Regions from separate parts of the Homo sapiens genome. Here region 2 is linked to region 1. The links are contacts of gene promoters, found by promoter capture Hi-C in blood cells and fetal thymus (Javierre and others, 2016). All regions are on one chromosome and are shown on one strand. Each heading gives the region's core, a stretch centred on a gene start or on the middle of the fragment in contact. The rest is flanking DNA. Distances are from core to core; before and after follow the strand shown.

What was found. The method cuts DNA at HindIII sites, captures the fragments that hold promoters and counts their contacts. A CHiCAGO score of 5 or more calls a contact.
Region 2: a fragment that was not itself captured here is called in contact with the fragment with the promoter of ABCC10 in region 1 in 1 of 17 cell types (fetal thymus); the score reaches 6.1 in fetal thymus.

The regions. Positions count from the first base shown.
Region 1 is chr6:43,426,010-43,431,472 of GRCh38, reverse strand. ABCC10 (ATP binding cassette subfamily C member 10) reads right to left here and starts at 3,932. Exons shown (of 22, transcript NM_001198934.2): 1 at 3,716-3,932; 2 at 3,334-3,505. The coding sequence starts at 3,494. It overlaps LOC105375065 (a long non-coding RNA gene), which reads right to left. Exons shown (of 6, transcript XR_007059585.1): 6 at 5,459-5,463. RefSeq lists enhancers at 3,286-3,355, 5,457-5,463. The HindIII fragment of the contact is 12,589 bases long and covers 1-4,120 here.
Region 2 is chr6:41,787,401-41,792,667 of GRCh38, reverse strand. TOMM6 (translocase of outer mitochondrial membrane 6) reads right to left here and starts at 4,974. Exons shown (of 3, transcript NM_001382294.1): 1 at 4,843-4,974; 2 at 3,332-3,436; 3 at 2,773-3,100. The coding sequence starts at 4,970. The coding sequence ends at 3,340. It overlaps USP49 (ubiquitin specific peptidase 49), which reads left to right. Exons shown (of 8, transcript NM_001286554.2): 8 at 1-2,772. It overlaps PRICKLE4 (prickle planar cell polarity protein 4), which reads right to left. Exons shown (of 8, transcript NM_013397.6): 8 at 5,216-5,267. RefSeq lists enhancers at 4,527-5,216, 4,287-5,267. The HindIII fragment of the contact is 2,118 bases long and covers 2,864-4,981 here.

The DNA.
Region 1 (5,463 bases), core at 2,683-5,182:
AGGAGAATCGCTTGAATCTGGGAGATGGAGGTTGCAGTGAGCTGAGATCACGCCAATGCACTCCAGCCTGGGTGACAGGGGAAGACTCCGTCTCAGGAAAAAAAAGAAAATCCAAAGTTTTCATGCAGATAACTGATAAAGGGTACATATTCATTTTTACAAAAGGATCCACCTAACAGTACCCTTAAATTCACCTGAAGCACTATTAAATGAATAAAAATCGGACTTACATACAGCTTTTATATTCTAATATGGTAGCCTAAACTTTATAAAGGCTTGGAATATTCTACTCTCTTTCCACTGATTATAGAAGGTGGTGTGGATTGCTTTTGCGACTCCTTTAGCTAAAGAAAAATATCTCTTTTTGCTTGTGTTTATATCTTCTTGGCATAAAAAAATGTTTTTAATAAACAAAAGGTGATCTGTCTGCATTAAGAATCAAATACAGGGGCTGGTCACAGTGGCTTATGCCCGTAATCCCAGCACTTTGGGAGGCTGAAGCAGGCAGATCACTTGAGATCAGCAGTTTGAGACCAGCCTGGCCAACATGGTAAAACCCGGTCTCTAATAAAAATACAAAAATTAGCAGGGAATGGTGGCACACACCTGTAATCCCAGCTACTTTGGGACACTGAGGCACGAGAATCGCTTGAACCTGGGAGGCGGAGGTTGCAGTGAGCTGAGATCGTGCCACTGTACTCCAGCCTGGGTGACAAAGAGAGACTCTGTCCAAAAAAAAAAAAAAGAATCAAATACAGGAAAACGTATCTGCAGCAGTGAGTATCAGGATGTCTTGAAAGTTCATACAAAAAGAGGACTGAGTCTGTTACACCCTTTGTGGCACGGCTAGGTTACTAAAAAAGTTTACTTGTAAGCTAAAATGCAGAGTCTTGCTCTGTCGCCAGGCTGGAGCGCAATGGCGTGATCTCAGCTCGCTGCAACCTCCGCCTCCCAGGTTCAAGCGATTCCCCTGCCTCAGCCTCCCGAGTAGCTGGGGGTTTTCTTAAAAGTCCACCTGATGACAGTTATTTGTAGGGATTTAGATGGGAATAAAAAATCAGCCTTTAAGAATTCTATTTCTGGGCTGGGCATGGTGGCTCAAGCCTGTAATCCCAGCACTTTGGGAGGCAGAGGCAGGTGGATCACTTGAGGCCAGGAGTTCAAGACCAGCCTGTGTAACACAGTGAAACTCCATCTCTAGTAAAAATACGAAAACTGGCCAGGCATGGTGGCACATGCCTGTAGTCTCAGCTACTCTGGAGGCTAAGGCAGGAGAATCGCTTGAACCCAAGAGGTGGAGGTTGCAGTGGGCCGAGATCGTGCCACTGCTCTCCAGCCTGGGTGACAGAGTAAGACCCTGTCTCAAAGAAAAAAAAAATTTTTTTCTATTTCTGGCTGGGCATGGTGGCTCACATTTGTAAACCCAGAACTTTAGGAGGCTGAGGCAGAAGGATTGCTTGAGCCCAAGAGTTCAAGACCAGCCTGGACAACAAAGCAAGGCCTTGTCTCTACTAAAAATAATTTTTTCTTTTTGAGACAGAGTCTCGCTTTGTCGTCCAGGCTGGAGTGCAGTGGTGCAATCTTGGCGCACCACAACCTCTGCCTCCTGGGTTCAAGCGATTCAAGATGGGGTTTCACCATGTTGACCAGGCTGGTTTCAAACTCCTGACCTCCAGTGATCTGCCTGTCTCAGCCTCCCAAAGTGCTGGGATTACAGGCATGAGCCACTGGGCCCGGCCAATTTTTTGTATTTTTAGTAGAGATGGCATTCTGCCACGTTGGCAGGCTGGTCTCGAACTCCTGGCCTCCTACAGTGCTGGCATTACAGGCTTGAGCCACTGCACCCGGCCTATTAAAAATAATTTTTAAAAAAATTAGCCAGGTGTGGTGGCATGCACTTGTGGCCCCAGCAAATCAAAAGGCTGAGGTGAGAGGTTGCTGGAGCCCAGGAGGTTGAGGCTGCAGTGAACTGTGATTGCACCACTGTACTTCAGCCTGGGCAACAGAGGGAGACGCTGCCTCAAAAAACAAAACAACAATAACAATCCCCCCTCCCCCCCGCCACACACACACACACACACACACACACACACACACACAAGAAAGAAAAGAAAGAAAGAAAAGAAAGAAGGAAAAGAAAAAAATATATATATTTCCTAAGATGTGGGGACCCAAGAAAGAACACTGGGCCCTTGGAGGCATAAACTGGCCCCAAGTTGGCCATCAACCAGCCTCATCACCCCTTCAAGTCTCTTTTCCTCTCTGAATCTCACTTTCCTCACCAGTATGGTGAGCAGTGAGTCTCAAGTTAAAGCCTTCTGAGGCCCTTTCCTGTCTTAGATTCTCGATCTCTCTAACCCTTCTCAGCAACACACACAAGGCTGATAAGTGAAGTGAAGCACAATTTCTATTGATCACATGATGGTCTTTCTTGCTTTCCCAGGGGGCGGATGAATCCCTTCCTTGGATAGGAGAAGCTGTGTATCCGCTTGGTCTGGGAGGAATCCTGATTTGTTTCTTACACAGAGACAAAAGTCTAGAAGGGTTTAATCACCTAGCATAGACAGCCTTCTCAGAAGAGCAGCTATTAAAAATTGGCACAGTCTTTTGGGAACTCAGTCTAATGAGAAAGCAAGAAAGACCTCTTGGATAGAGACACTTCCCCCCATCAGACTAGGAACTCCCAAAGGCAGAGACCACACCGTCCTCCTATCTTCTCGGCAGCCAGAATGAGACTAACTTTAGTCATCTCTAGCCATACAAGAACTAAATACAAAATCAAGTTGAGTTTAGCATCCACACCTTATAGCCCTTAATTGGGGAAGGCTTAATGTTTGATTTTGCTCTTCTTGTCTATCTACTGCTTCCTCTTCAGCTGAGCCTAGGTATGCTTTTCTTAATCTGGAAACACTAAGGTTTCATGGGTTGCAGTGGTGAGAAACTGAGCCTACAACTTAAACACATCATCGCTTTTGGCTAAAAACGTTGTTCCCCCAATTCTGCCTCCAATTCATGACAGCTGAGTCCGGGTAGCTGAAAATGGACAATTCTGATGATTTCTGATACTCATCGGACCTTTAAAAACATGCCAGGCGCTGCACTATATGCTTAAATTCATTATCTCATTTAAACCTCCCAACAATGAGACTCAGAGAAGGCAGGTACTTGCCCAAGAACAGCCACATTGCTGCTAAGTAGCAATGCTTAGATTTTATTCTACTTCTGCCCTACTCCAGAGACCTCGCTATTCTGGTGACACTGCCGGAAGATGTAGGCCGCGGGTGAGATCTGCAGGCACACATGGACAGATGCCTTGCGCCCGTCTCTACCCACCTCGGGGTGCCCAAGTAACAGGCACTGAGCACGGCGAGGAGCGCGTGGGGCAGGGCGCTGAGCACCAGCTGGGTGAAGCAGTGGCCTGTGGTGTCCCCCTCCCACAGCGGGAGCGGCCACGCTGCGCTGCTGCCGCACAGCTGGGCCAGAAGTCGTTCCATGGACGCCTCACCTGAAGGGAAAGTTGAGGGTGACGGCTGTGCAGGGTAACAGCCGGCTTTGCCTGCACTTCCCAGCCGGGTCTCCCTGTCTCCAGCCCCGCCCTGGAACCGGGACCGCCCGTCGCTTCCGCCCCGAAGCCAGACCCCGCCCATTCTCGCGGTACCAAGGGTAAAAACGGGAGGAGGTTTCCCCAGTGGATTTCTGGACGCTGGTCACCCACCTTGCCATCTGTTTTTCCCCTCCCGTTTCTCCGCCCCCAGGCATCCGGAACCTCAAACCTGAAGAAGCTGCTGTGCACCGGATTCCGATATCCTGAGAACTGGTGTATGCAAAAAAAAAAAAAGTACTGCCCGGCCGGGGTGCTGGGCCCGCCCCGGCTGGCACCCCACCTAGAGGTTGGAAGACCTAGCCGGCGCTATTCGCCACGCCCATATGCTGGTAGCTGCACGCATGTGCACTGCTCTCTGCTTCGGCTGGCCTTTGCACGCAGGCGCGCTGGTGCAGACGCACAGTTGCGTTTTGGTACGCTTTTGTGGCCTGACTTGCGTTAAGGATCCATCCCTCCCTTAGTGCAACGTCATTTATAACCTCTCACGTGGAGTATTCGCTCACAACTGTGTAAGCTTACTAGTTGGCACAAGCATTGCAATCTCCATTTCTTGAAGAGGTGGGGAGCCGGGCACGGTTGCGCGCCTCGGTAGTCCCTGCGCGCCCGTAGTCTCTGCGCGCCGGTAGATCCCAGGAGGATGGCCTGAGCCCAGGAGTTCGAGAACAGTCCAAGCAGCATAGCGAGACCCCAGTCTCAGATAGATAGATGGATGGATGGAAATTCAAACATACCTGCCCCACGGACAAATAATGCCATTTTGGGACACACTGTTTTCCCTTATTATTCTAGGGCTGCATGACCTTGGACAAGTTACCTAACTTTTTTGAGCCTCAACTTTTTTTTGGGGGGGGGACGGAGTCTCGCTCTGTCACCAGGCTGGAGTGCAGTGGCACAATCTCGGTTCACTGCAACCTCCGCCTCCCGGGTTAAAGCGATTCTCCTGCCTCAGCCTCCCGAGTAGCTGGGACTACAGGCGCGCGCAACCACGCCCAGCCAATTTTTTTGTTCGTATTTTTAGTAGAGACGGGGTTTCACCATGTTGGCAAGGATGGTCTCGATCTCCTGACCTCGTGATCCGTCCGCCTTGGCCTTCCGAAGAGCCGGGATTACAGGCGTGAGCCACCACCCCGGCCGAGCCTCAACTTCTTTATTTGTACAACAGGGACAATACCAATACTAAAGTACTGTTGAGAGAGTTGAATAATTAATTTAGAGTGCTTAGGGCAAGTGCTTTGCCTAGGGTAGTCCTCCAATAAATCTTTTAAGGAAGCAGTGGGAAGAACATAACCTTTATAATTATACGGACCTGGGTTTGAATGCTTTTAGCAGAGGGATGTTGGGCAGGTTACTTCTGCATCTTTATTTTATTATGTTTGTCAGGCATGGTGTTGGTATCCGCCTTTACATAGGTGTGTACAGTGCTTGAAGAAGAAAAGCTAAACAAATGACAATTATGGTTATCCCACTTAATCTCAGTAAGAAGCCCCATATCCCTCAACGTCAAGAATTAATTTTCCTATTTTTAAAAACTAAGAGATGTAGGTTTGCATTTCACAATCTTTAGTAATTAATTAACAGAGTCTTGCTACCTGGCCCAGGCTGGTCTTGAACTCCTGGCCTCAGGTGATGCGCTTGCCTTGGCCTCCCAAAGTGCTGGGATTATAGGTGTGAGCCACTGCACCTGGCCAGGCTCCACTTCTAATTCTAATTCACTTGCTGTTTCCATCACATCTGCAGTTACTTCCTCCACTGATGTCTTGAAGGTCCATCCGTGAAGGTTGGAATCAGCTTCTTCCAAACTTCTGTTAATGTTGATATACGTTGTCCTCCTCCCATGAATCCCATGAATCACAGTTTTT
Region 2 (5,267 bases), core at 2,673-5,172, 1.6 Mb after region 1:
GTTACAATGTCCAAATTCTTTGTATTTGTGACTGTTCATCAAATGGCTGCTTTTCAAGGCAGACTGTGTACTCCATTGTTTTTCACTTCCCTTGTCATGTTCCATACATTGACTTGGGCCTTTTTAAATCAGGCTGGGGGGCTACCCCTTCTTAAATGAATACTATATCCCTATCTGAGGTTACCTCTTGTGAGTGGAAGGGTTGCTTTCCCAGGTGGTTGGGAGAGCACAAATGTTGAGAAAAGGCCTTTTAGTCTTTATCAAAACAATGACTAATGCTGGGCAACATATAGCAGAAGTCAAACAAAAATGATTCCTCCTGAAATGGTACCTTCATTGGTTCTGATGTTCTTTTGCAAAAAATGTCCGGAAGCAGTATAGAAAACCCCCTGTATGTGAACCTTAGATTGTAAGGCAAGCCAGTGCACTGTGTAATATGCAAAGGGAGTGGTGCAAAAGAGAAGGCACCCGTCCCAGCTCTCCATGCCCTTTCCCTGGCAGGCGCTGACTGAGATGGCGCTGAGTGAATGTGGAAGGTGCTAAGACCCAGTCTCTTCACTGCAGGGCTGTTTACAGCCAGTTTCTTTTACTCTGACCTTAAGGTTTCCACTGAGCTCATGAAACTTCAACATATGGTGTTTAAAAGTTTCCCACTCAAATGCACACTTGAAAATTGGGTCCCTCAGCCTCATTACTGAACTAAATAAGTGAAGAAGTTGTATCTTTGGGGTAAAACTTTCCAGGGCCACTTAATTTTTTAACCAGTTAAGTACGCATCTTCCTGGTGGTTCAGACTTTTTAAGTCAGTGCTAAAGCTGAAAAGCGCCTTCTAAATATGACTGTGAGTTTAGTTTGTATCTTACATTTAGTAACTGTTCTGTTGGGCCAGGACTATGACTTTAATTACTATGTACTTATTCATCCCACACTCTGCACTAAATACACCATAGCTACTATAGCATTGTGGCAGGCACTCATTTTTGTGGACTCATTCCATACTTCTGCTGGCATATTTCGTTTAAAATCTAGCTAAAGATTTTCATAGTACTGTGTTAACTAGCCAGGGCTGAAAAGTGTGACAGGATATCAAATTGACTTTCCTTGGGGAAAATGTTGCTTTGGCAATAGTGAAGTCCAACTCCTTCATTTACAGAATTAGTGATTACTCATCAATTTTTGAAAGTTGTAGATTAAGTAGTTTTATTTACTAAATTCTTAACCACTTTGAAGATTTAAGCCAGTTGAAATGAAACATTGGCTGGATGCAGTTGGCTAGCACCTGTAATCCCAACACTTTGGGAGGCCAAGGTGGGAGGATTGCTTGAGGCCAGGAGCTCAAGACCAGCCTGGGAAACATAGATTTGAAATCTTTTCAAAAATGTATAAAAATTTAATAAATAAATAAATGAATCCTTACTCAACCATAATTATGGCTTTAAAACCCAACCAACAGTAAACACTTACTTGAAGCCAAAACAGTAAATTTTGAATGAAATTTGAATTATGCTTTTGGAAGCTGCCATGTCTTAATTCTTGCTGGATTTTGATTTTCAATTTTGGAAGTTTTTATCAAAACTGTCCAGTCATGAGTATATCAGGTAGCAGCCTTTAAGGATCTAAGTTTCATTCCTATAAAGAACAGGAGGTGCTGGTATTTCTTGTCTTAGCAAGTGATCTGATGCAGGTCTAAATGGGGGTTAGCATCTATACTATGGCTTAAAAGTTTCCTCCTTGGTCACCATTTGGGAGGTGATGGCTTCAAAGCTAAGCTTTGCTCTCATGTGACCCTTCTTTATCTTAATACCCAATAAGATATAAACCTCTCAGAGTCAACCCAGTGTAGACTCAAAGGGTCTTAGCTTCATCTATCAGATAAGATCTATCTGATTTATACAAAGAATGGTGCTGTTTTTATATACATACTAAAAAAATCTAATTCTCAAACAATTTTCTTAATATTTATGCCAGCAAGGTCAGGAAAGACTATTTTGTCCTGTTTAACTTTAGTAGTGAACAAACTGCTAGAGACATCTGTCATCCTTAACAGGCCACTGTGGTCCTTATATACTGACCCTCCTTTCCAATTAACGTCCTTTAATCCCATACTAGTTCCATAAGAGACTTGGCACATAAAAGCAGTATTTTTTTTAATGCCTAGTAAACTGGCCAGAAAAAAATATTGCCATGGTGGACCTGTTTCTATCCACCTCTTTCTATGGCTATATAAGTCTATACATGCCAGTTCCGTACATACTCCATTTCCAAAGAGCCCCCAAACCCTGGACAGTAGCACTACCATGAATTTTAGGGTCACAAAACATTTCCTTCTGAAGGAAGCAGCTGCCTCAGCAGTGTCACTTTAGTGACCACTGCCCAGGCTTACTTCACTTTGCCTCCCCCTACACATCACTGCCCTCTTTCTGCCACCAAACCTCACTATTCCAGCAATGATGCCTCCCTGGTGTCTGGAAAACCCATCTGGTGCACTAAAATGCTATGCAACACCAAATGGCTTCTTCCCCTAATATTGCTCAACAATGTAAATTCTTCAAGAATAAACTTCATGCTAGGTTAACATCAATGTATGGTTACAGCTTCCTTTTTTTTTTTTCCCTTTTAAAATGAAGCAAACCACCTCCATTAAAATCCATGTTTTGGGGCTTGTTTTTGTCTCTCAAGTGTGAAATATAAATCATGTTTTTATGATTTTTGTAAATCTTTTTACACCTTGTTTTTGTAAGCAAAAGTTTCTTATTAAAAGAATAAAATGACTGCCTTTGTGTGCGGTATTTATTTCAAATGTTTTTTAAAACAGCACTGTTATTTCTCAGGACAAGAGCAAAAATCACCCCCTGCAGAAGCTTGGGAACTATGTACAGAACTTTACAGAATAGAGGCAATACTTTAGCTTAAGCCTGTCTGCTGACCAGAGAATGGAATTCTGCGTGGACTCAAGGAACAAAAGGAAACTAGGCAGGGAAGGGGAAGAAAAGTGCCCATCTGAATCAAACTTCAGCTGCCATCAGGGCACATCTTGTGGTGGTCACAGATTGTAGGCTGTTTTTTGGAAGATTCGGGTTCAGCACAGGATTCCATTTGTCTGCAATCAGATGATAAGACGACAGGTGGCATTAGAACTGTAAAAGTATGGGAGGGAAACTGGTAAGAGATACTTAAATCCCTTTCAACATCTGAAAACACATTTAACTAGGAATAGTTAAGGGTTTTACATCACATTCTTTTGTACATTTCATGAATACTTGACAGAAAACATTGCTTCACCCAGTCTCTAGGTCTCCTAAGACACGCATGGGTGTAGTTCAGTGCTTACCTACTTGGCTACACCCCTGGCTGAGGTGCCATGAGGTCAATGTCACTCAAGTTCCTGGCCAGCCAAACTCCCGCAGCAAAGAGTCCCAAATTTAGTATCAAGTTCCTGGAAAAACAATGTGTTTTATTAACCCTGTGGTCACTGAGTCAGTTGTACAGTTAACGAAATGTACTGGGGGGAAAGGCTTCCATCACCACCTTCCCGAGGCGTTGATACGTGGTTGTGACGGCAGGTTGCTCAAGACCCACGTGGGAATTTGGAGTTCATTTTTGTGCCTAGTAAGTGTAAGGTCAGGCTGGGCGCGGTGGTTCACGCCTGTAATCCCAGCACTTTGGAAGGCCAAGGCAGGCGGATCACGAAGTCAGGAGCTCGAGACCAGCCTGGCCAACATGGTGAAACCCCGTCTCTACTAAAAATACAAAAATTAGCTGGGCGTGGTGGTGCGCGCCTGTAATCCCAGCTACTGGGGAGGCTGAGGCAGGAAAATCGCTTGAACCCGGGAGGCGGAGGCTGCAGTGAGCTGAGGTCCGCCACTACACTCCAGCCTGGGCGACAGAGCGAGGCTGTCTCAAAAAGAAATAAATGTGGCCGGGCGCGGTGGCTCACGCCTGTAATCCCAGCACTTTGGGAGGCAGAGTCGGGTGGATCGAGAAGTCAGGAGTTTGAGACCAGCCTGCCCAAGATGGTGAAACCCCGTCTCTACTAAAAATACAAAAATTAGCTGGGCGTGGTGGCGCGCGCTTGTAATCCCAGCTACTGGGGAGGCTGAGGCAGGAGAATCGCTTGAACCCGGGAGGCAGAAGGGGCAGTGAGCCGAGATTGCGCCTCTGCACTCCAGCCTGGGCGACAGAGTGAGACTCCGTCTCAAAAAAAAAAAAAAAAAAAAAAAAAAAGGCCGGGCGTGGTGGCTCACGCCTGTAATCCCAGCACTTTGGGAGGCCGAGGCGGGCGGATCACGAGGTCAGGAGATCGAGACCATCCTGGATAACACGGTGAAACCCCGTCTCTACTAAAAATACAAAAAATTAGCAGGGCGTGGTGGCGGGCGGCCGTAGTCCCAGCTACTCGGGAGGCTGAGGCAGGAGAATGGCGTGAACCCGGGAGGCGGAGCTTGCAGTGAGCCGAGATCGCGCCACTGCACTCCAGCCTGGGCAACAGAGTGAGACTCCGTCTCAAAAAAAAAAAAAAAACAAAAAAGAAATGTAAGATCAAACGCAAAGCCCAGCTAAAGCACTAGTCCAGGGCCGAAAAAGCCTGTTTACGTGCTAGCACTTCTTCCCTTGATCAGGGTGACATTACAGATACAGCCACATGACAGAAAGATCGCTTTTGCCACACGGGAACTCTCCTGGCCAGGGATCTCAGTGAGGCACAGCCAGAGCTACGAAGACGCCACAATGCTGGTAATGTTAAAAAACAAAAACAAAAAACCCTGAGGCGCCAGCCTCGCAAGAAAGGGGAAATACGGATTTAAGGGCCAGAAAAGGACCAAGTTCCTCGGGCTCGGTTACCTCCGGAAGTCATTCCTATCAGTGGCAAAGCGGTAGACGCCCCGAAGCCAATCTCCCACGTTGTCCGGTATTTCGGGAGTTTCATTAGCCGAGCCAGCAGCGCTCACCGGGACAGTGCTGGAAGCCATAGTGGAAAGCTTCGCATGGGCCTCGGTGGAGGAACCGTATCGGCGTCGCCGGTGAATGACGCACCTCCGGTCTGGCACTTCCGGCTGCTACCGGCCGGCAGTGGGGGCGCTGTTCGCTTAGTCCGACATCCGGAAGAGGGACGGCCCTCTGCTGCGCCTCCACGAACTCTAGGAGGGGAGGAGCGCGGCCCGGTTCTACGGTCCCCTGCTCCCGGTCCCACCTCCGGCTCTCCAGCCGGTAACTGTCACGCGTGCTGTGATCATTTAATTGGCTTGGGAGGAGGATGGTGGGGACGG